2 separate regions of the Homo sapiens genome follow, and region 1 is linked to region 2. The links are contacts of gene promoters, found by promoter capture Hi-C in human tissues and cell types (Jung and others, 2019). All regions are on one chromosome and are shown on one strand. Each heading gives the region's core, a stretch centred on a gene start or on the middle of the fragment in contact. The rest is flanking DNA. Distances are from core to core; before and after follow the strand shown. Region 1 overlaps VWF (von Willebrand factor). Region 2 holds the start of VAMP1 (vesicle associated membrane protein 1).

Region 1 (2,700 bases), core at 40-2,539, 380 kb after region 2:
CCTGAAGCTGCTGTAACAAATTATCTCATACTCAATGGCTTAAAACAGTAGGCATTTATTTTCTCCCAGTTCTGGAGGCTGGAGGTCCAAATTTAGTTTCCCTGGGCTGAGATCAAGGTGTTGGCTGGCTTTGCTCCTTCCAGAGGCTCTAGGTCCTTGCTTCCGTCATTTTTGGGTGGCAGCGGCATTCCCTGTCTTTGGGCTCATGACTTCAATTTCTGCCTCTGTGGTCACATGGCCTTCTCCTCTCCTGTGTGTGCTAATGCCTGCCAACCCTGACAAGGCTGGGAGGACTGCCCCACCCCTTCCACAGAGCCCTGTTGCCACTTACAAGGTAGCCTTGTAGCAGCTCTGTCTGCATCAGAGTTGCCATTCATGATCTCACTCACCAGGACCTCACACTGGAGAGAAGGGGAGGTGGGGAGGGGTGGCCAGACCACACTCTGCCTTCACCTGCCACAGGTAAAGATGGTCTTTGTGCCTCTCTGTGTGTGGGTGTTTGGGGCAAGAATGCTTTATGTGGGGCAAGACCTCACTCAATGGGTAATTCCCTCCCCACTGTGGAACAGGCTGACTTGGGCTGAGGAGGTAGGTGCAGCTGTGAAGCTGGACTCCTGTGGGGAACAGGGGTTGTTGCCCTTTTGGGATTGTGCTCAGAGACTCATCATCTGAGGAGCAAGGTTCCTTGGTGGTGCTGTGAGTCAGCCTCCCTGGGCGGGACGTTTGTATGCAGGAGGTTTACTGGGGAGCTCTCGAGCAGCCTTGGTTAGGAAGTGAGAGAAGCAGAGTTGGGCAGTGGGAGAAGTTGAACTGCTTGTGATAGCACTGATAGAGCTTCAGCGGGGCCTCAGCTGATCCTTCAAGGAGCTCTGGAAGGTGGAGTGGCCCCTGTTGGTCACTGGATGTGGGCTGCCCTGGGTAAGGAGGTGGAACTCCCTTGGGCTGAGGGCCATTCCTGAGGAATGACTCAGTGGTGAGCCCTTGGCAGCCAACACTGGACAGCTGGTGGATGAGTCCTCGGGCTCTGAATGGGCACCTACGCTGTGCCCCGACACCTACGCTGTGCCCCGACACCCTCTACAAAGCTGCTCTGCTTGACAGCACCACCTTCCTGCCCTTATCCAGAGAGCAACCACACTGTCAAAAATGTCAACTGAAGAATCACAAGGTTCATAAACTTAGAGAGGAGAGCTTTTCTTATTCAGAGTTGTGGCCTGCAGGCTGGCCATCCTGCAGGCTGGGAAGTGTAGCCTCTGGTAGAAACTGAAAGCAGGCACTTCAAGGGAGAAAGGGGTGGAATAGAAACTTATTCCAAAAGGGTTGGCTCAGTGTACATATTTAACAGGTTATGGGAGGAGCTATGAATATTCATAATGGGAGGAGGCATTTGCATATACAGTAAGCAAACATACATGTTACATATGTCCCACATTCATTTTGGGATGGAGACTTAACATTTAAATGCATTAAAATTAGCCTCTATAGGTCAAAAGGTGAAATGGAGGACACAGAGGCATCTTGTGCACAGCCTCTGTAAATCAGCCAGAACCATTCCGTGGTTGGTGGTCTCTTACCAGGAAGGAATGCTGGTCAGCACACACACACACACACACACACACACACACACACACACACACACACACACACACTCTCACTCACTCACTAACTAGCTGGGCATGGTGGCATGCACGCACGCACACACACTAGCTGGGCATGGTGGCACACGCGCGTGCACACACACACACACAGACAAACACATACTAGCTGGGCATGGTGGTGCACCAGTAATCCCAGCTAATGGGAGGGCTGAGGTGGGAAGATGGCTTGAACCTGGGAGGCAGAAGCTGCAGTGAGTTGAGATTGCATCACTACACTCCAGCCTGGGTGAAAATGTGAGACCCTGTCTCAAAAGAAAAAAAAAAACCCGCAAAAAGGGAAGGGAGTCCCTGCTGGGCCAGTTCTGTTTAACTCTTAGGAAAGAAAGTCTAATGGTGGTTAGCGAGGGAGAGGGTATAAGGAGGGGTGTTCAACCTCCCATCCTATCATGGCCAGGAACTCAGTTTTAATATTTCTCTGGGGTCCCTTTGGCCAAGGGGGAGTCCGTTTAGTCGGTAGGGGGGCTTAGGATTTTATTTTTTTCTGAAAACCTACAAACATGCACAAAGAGGGTGGCCCCTGCCTATACCCAGGACCATGGTCATGATGGACGCGACAGGCCACAGTTGCCTTTGTCTGGGCATGGGCCACTCTGCAGAGCGTGAGTGCATGCTGCAGTCACCCGAGTGCGCAGCCCATCAGCAGAGCAGTAGGGCAGGTGCTCTGTGATTTTGTTCATCCCATGAGAAAACAAGCCATAGGAGGTTAAGTAGCTGCCCCAAGTCGCCAGCTAGCAAGGTGCAGAGCCAGGACTCATGCCCTGCCTGGCTCCCTCCCTTTCCTGTTCGGGTCACATTGGTTCAGGCTACTCAAGTTATTTCTACCAGTGGGCCCTTGTGTTTCTCTTGGGGAGTTGGGCTTTGCAGGTTCTTAAGGTTTCTTTAAGTTCTAAAACCCTTTATTAGCCTGGTGCGGTGGCTCATACCTGTAGACCCAGCTGCTCAGGAGGCTGAGTCAGGAGGATCACTTGAGCCCAGGAGGTAGAGGCTGCAGTGAGCTACAATTGCACCACTGCACTCCAGCCTGGGCAACAGAGTGAGACCC
Region 2 (2,700 bases), core at 159-2,658:
GACTACATTGCGTGGAAATTAGTGGACATCCAAGACTGAGTCAAAAAAGTGAATCATTAACAATCAGTCTCTGTGAAGTTTTAGGGATAGTTACCATGTTATTGTTTTCTATTTCCCTTTTTATGCATGCACAAGAGTGAAATATAGAAATCGGTATGTATATAAACCCATATTTTCAATACATGTAAAACAAAAATGCTAAGTGGTAAGGAAAGCATTTGTCACAGATAATTTGCAACCTTTTTTCTTTTTTTTTTTGAAACAGGGTCTTGCTCTGTTGCCCAGGCTGGAGTGCAGTGGCGTGATCTCGGCTCACTGCAACCGTCGGCTCCCGGCTTCAAGCGATTCTCTTATCTCAGCCTCACGAGTAGCTGGGATTACAGGCGCCCGCCACCATGCCTGGCTGTTTTGTATTTTTAGTAGAGACAGAGGTTTCGCCATGTTGGCCAGGCTGGTCTCGAACTCCTGATCTCAGGTAATCTGCCTGACTCGGCCTCCCAAAGTGCTGGGATTACAGGTGTGAGCCACTGCGCCCGGCCTTGTAACCTTTTTTCTTAGCGGGACATAAAATAATGGTGAATTTTCCAACTGATGGAGTCCAGGAAAGGGATAATAGTGAGCAGAGGGGAGATAATCACTGGAATGCCAAGAAGGAAAAATCAACTCGATTTGGCAGATTACTGGGGGAGAGGTAAAGGTGAAGGGGAGGAAATCTAGGATGGTTTCCACGTTTCTGGTCTGGGCAACTGAGTCGATGTGGTAACCTCGACTGGAGCAGGTTTGGGAGGGAGTTCAATTTAGGAAGGCTATGTTGAAAGAAACGAATGAACGAAAGCTTCGTGCTTGCTTTGGTGGGACGGAACCCCGCATCCGGTATCTGGCACCAGGAGCTTGTGGCTGTGTCTCGAGGCTCCTGCACCCTCTCAGAGCGTTAGTTAGAGGCGGGGCGGTGGTGCGGAGCGAGGGCCAGAGCAGGGCACCAGGGCTGGGCGCGCACCAGGAAGCCGCCGCCTCCAGCTGAATGCGCGAGTCCCGGCGCGGGGTGGGGCAGGGGCGGGCACGGTCTTCAGTAACTGCCTAGCGATTGGTTGGGAGGCACCACAAATGCCTAACAAACTGCTGAAGCGCCCTCCGAAGGGACAGACCTCATCTCCACCCCGCCCCGTCCCTCCGCCAGACTGGAGCGCAAACTATGGTCGCATTGATCACTGAAGGATCCTCACAGCAACCGCTCCTTTCCGGAGTCGGATGAGAGGAGAGTTGTGACTGGCAATTGGCAGGGGCGGGGCGGGCTAGGCCTGTAGCGCTGGGCGACCGTCCTGGGCATGGATTGGGCCGCGGGGTTGTCACCGTTATCCGGGAGGCGTGGTCAGCACTAATAAAGGCGGAGGCCGGCGCGGCAGCTGCAGTAAGTTCCAGCGCAGCTAGACCGCGGGGTAGTCGGCGCGAGGCGGAGCTTGGCAGTTCCGTCCACTTCAGCCGCAGCGTCCCTCACCGGGTGTCTCGCCGCAGCCTCCGGAGAGGAACAGACCCTCACTCTCTCTGTCAGAAAAATGTGAGTTGACTCTGGTGTGGGGGCTCGGCACCTCCTTGACAACTCTCGCCCCAAGCTCCCGATTCTGCGGGACGGAAAATGGCGCAATGCAGCAGCTGCAGCAACGCGGGGAACTACCACCGCGCGCCGCTTCCGGACCGGGCCACCCCCAGGGAGGGGGGCCAGCACCCCATTCTCGCACCAGCCACAGCTAGCACCCCACGGGCGGGGCAGGGGCGCAGGGGTCCCACAATCATTGCACCCTCTCCTCTCGTCTGAGTGGCGCCTCATTCTGGTTTTGGTATAGTGGAGACTCGGAGAGGGCGGGGGCTGGGGGTGGTGGATGGAGACAACTGGGCAGGGGACTCGAAAGGTATTTCTGTCATCTGGCTAAATCACTACTCAGCGCCTCAGGAAAGACAGTCATGGGTGCAACTGCCAGTTGGTAACTTATGTTGCCCTACAATCTCTGGATTTGTTTACCCCTCACCCAAAGTGTGATGTCTAGCCCCCCTCATGGCAGTGAGCAAAGCTGCAGAAACTTATCTGCCAGTTCTCTGGCACCAGGTGAGCAGCTCAGAAAGACTCAAGGGGTAGTGGGATAGTGGCCTGTCATCCCAAGCGGCTGTTCATACCAAGGCCATTCGTATAGGAGATGTTTTTCTATCACCGAGTCTTACCAAATAGTTGGAGGAGAAATAGGGAGAGCTGAGCTTTCCCCCTTTCCTCCAACACACACAGTTTAGTCTCCAGCAGTCTTCAACATCACCCCCTTCGCATGATCTTGAGGGAAAACTACGGCTAAACAAACGAAGTACTTCTCTGTCAAGACCTCAATATGTCTAATACAGATTTTTCTTTCTGATTACTACCCTGGCCTGGTCCTAGATGTATTTATGTTGCTTCTCTAAGTGACAAAAAAGGGAAAGATTTACTTGTGTTACATAAGGGTTGTAATTATCCCTAGATATTTTACTGTTGAGTGTTTCCAACTCCCAACAAGTAGTAAGTGAAATTGGCCTTGCAAATACTTCATAGCCATTTCACTTTTTCTTTTTGATTTCTATGGTTTTAACCAGATATGAGTGTTCTATGCATTTTGGGCAAGCCGTAGAATTCCAGTTGTTTTCATTTTGGGGAGGGGGCTTCCAGATAGTATCTACGTG

The links. Contacts are between HindIII fragments. The study calls those that stand out against the background at their distance.
Region 1: a fragment that was not itself captured here is called in contact with the fragment with the promoter of VAMP1 in region 2 in 1 of the 25 tissues and cell types used here (mesenchymal stem cells).

What each region holds. Positions count from the first base shown.
Region 1 is chr12:6,091,568-6,094,267 of GRCh38, reverse strand. The region is part of intron 6 of VWF (von Willebrand factor); the gene reads left to right. Among named protein-coding and RNA genes, the nearest start is that of VWF, 32 kb to the left of the region's middle. RefSeq lists enhancers at 1-429, 430-1,026. The HindIII fragment of the contact is 7,255 bases long and covers 1-2,700 here.
Region 2 is chr12:6,469,385-6,472,084 of GRCh38, reverse strand. VAMP1 (vesicle associated membrane protein 1) reads left to right here and starts at 1,408. Exons shown (of 5, transcript NM_014231.5): 1 at 1,408-1,555. The coding sequence starts at 1,554. It also overlaps a transcript of TAPBPL not described here. RefSeq lists silencers at 857-1,116, 1,327-1,376, 1,877-1,926. The HindIII fragment of the contact is 3,078 bases long and covers 367-2,700 here.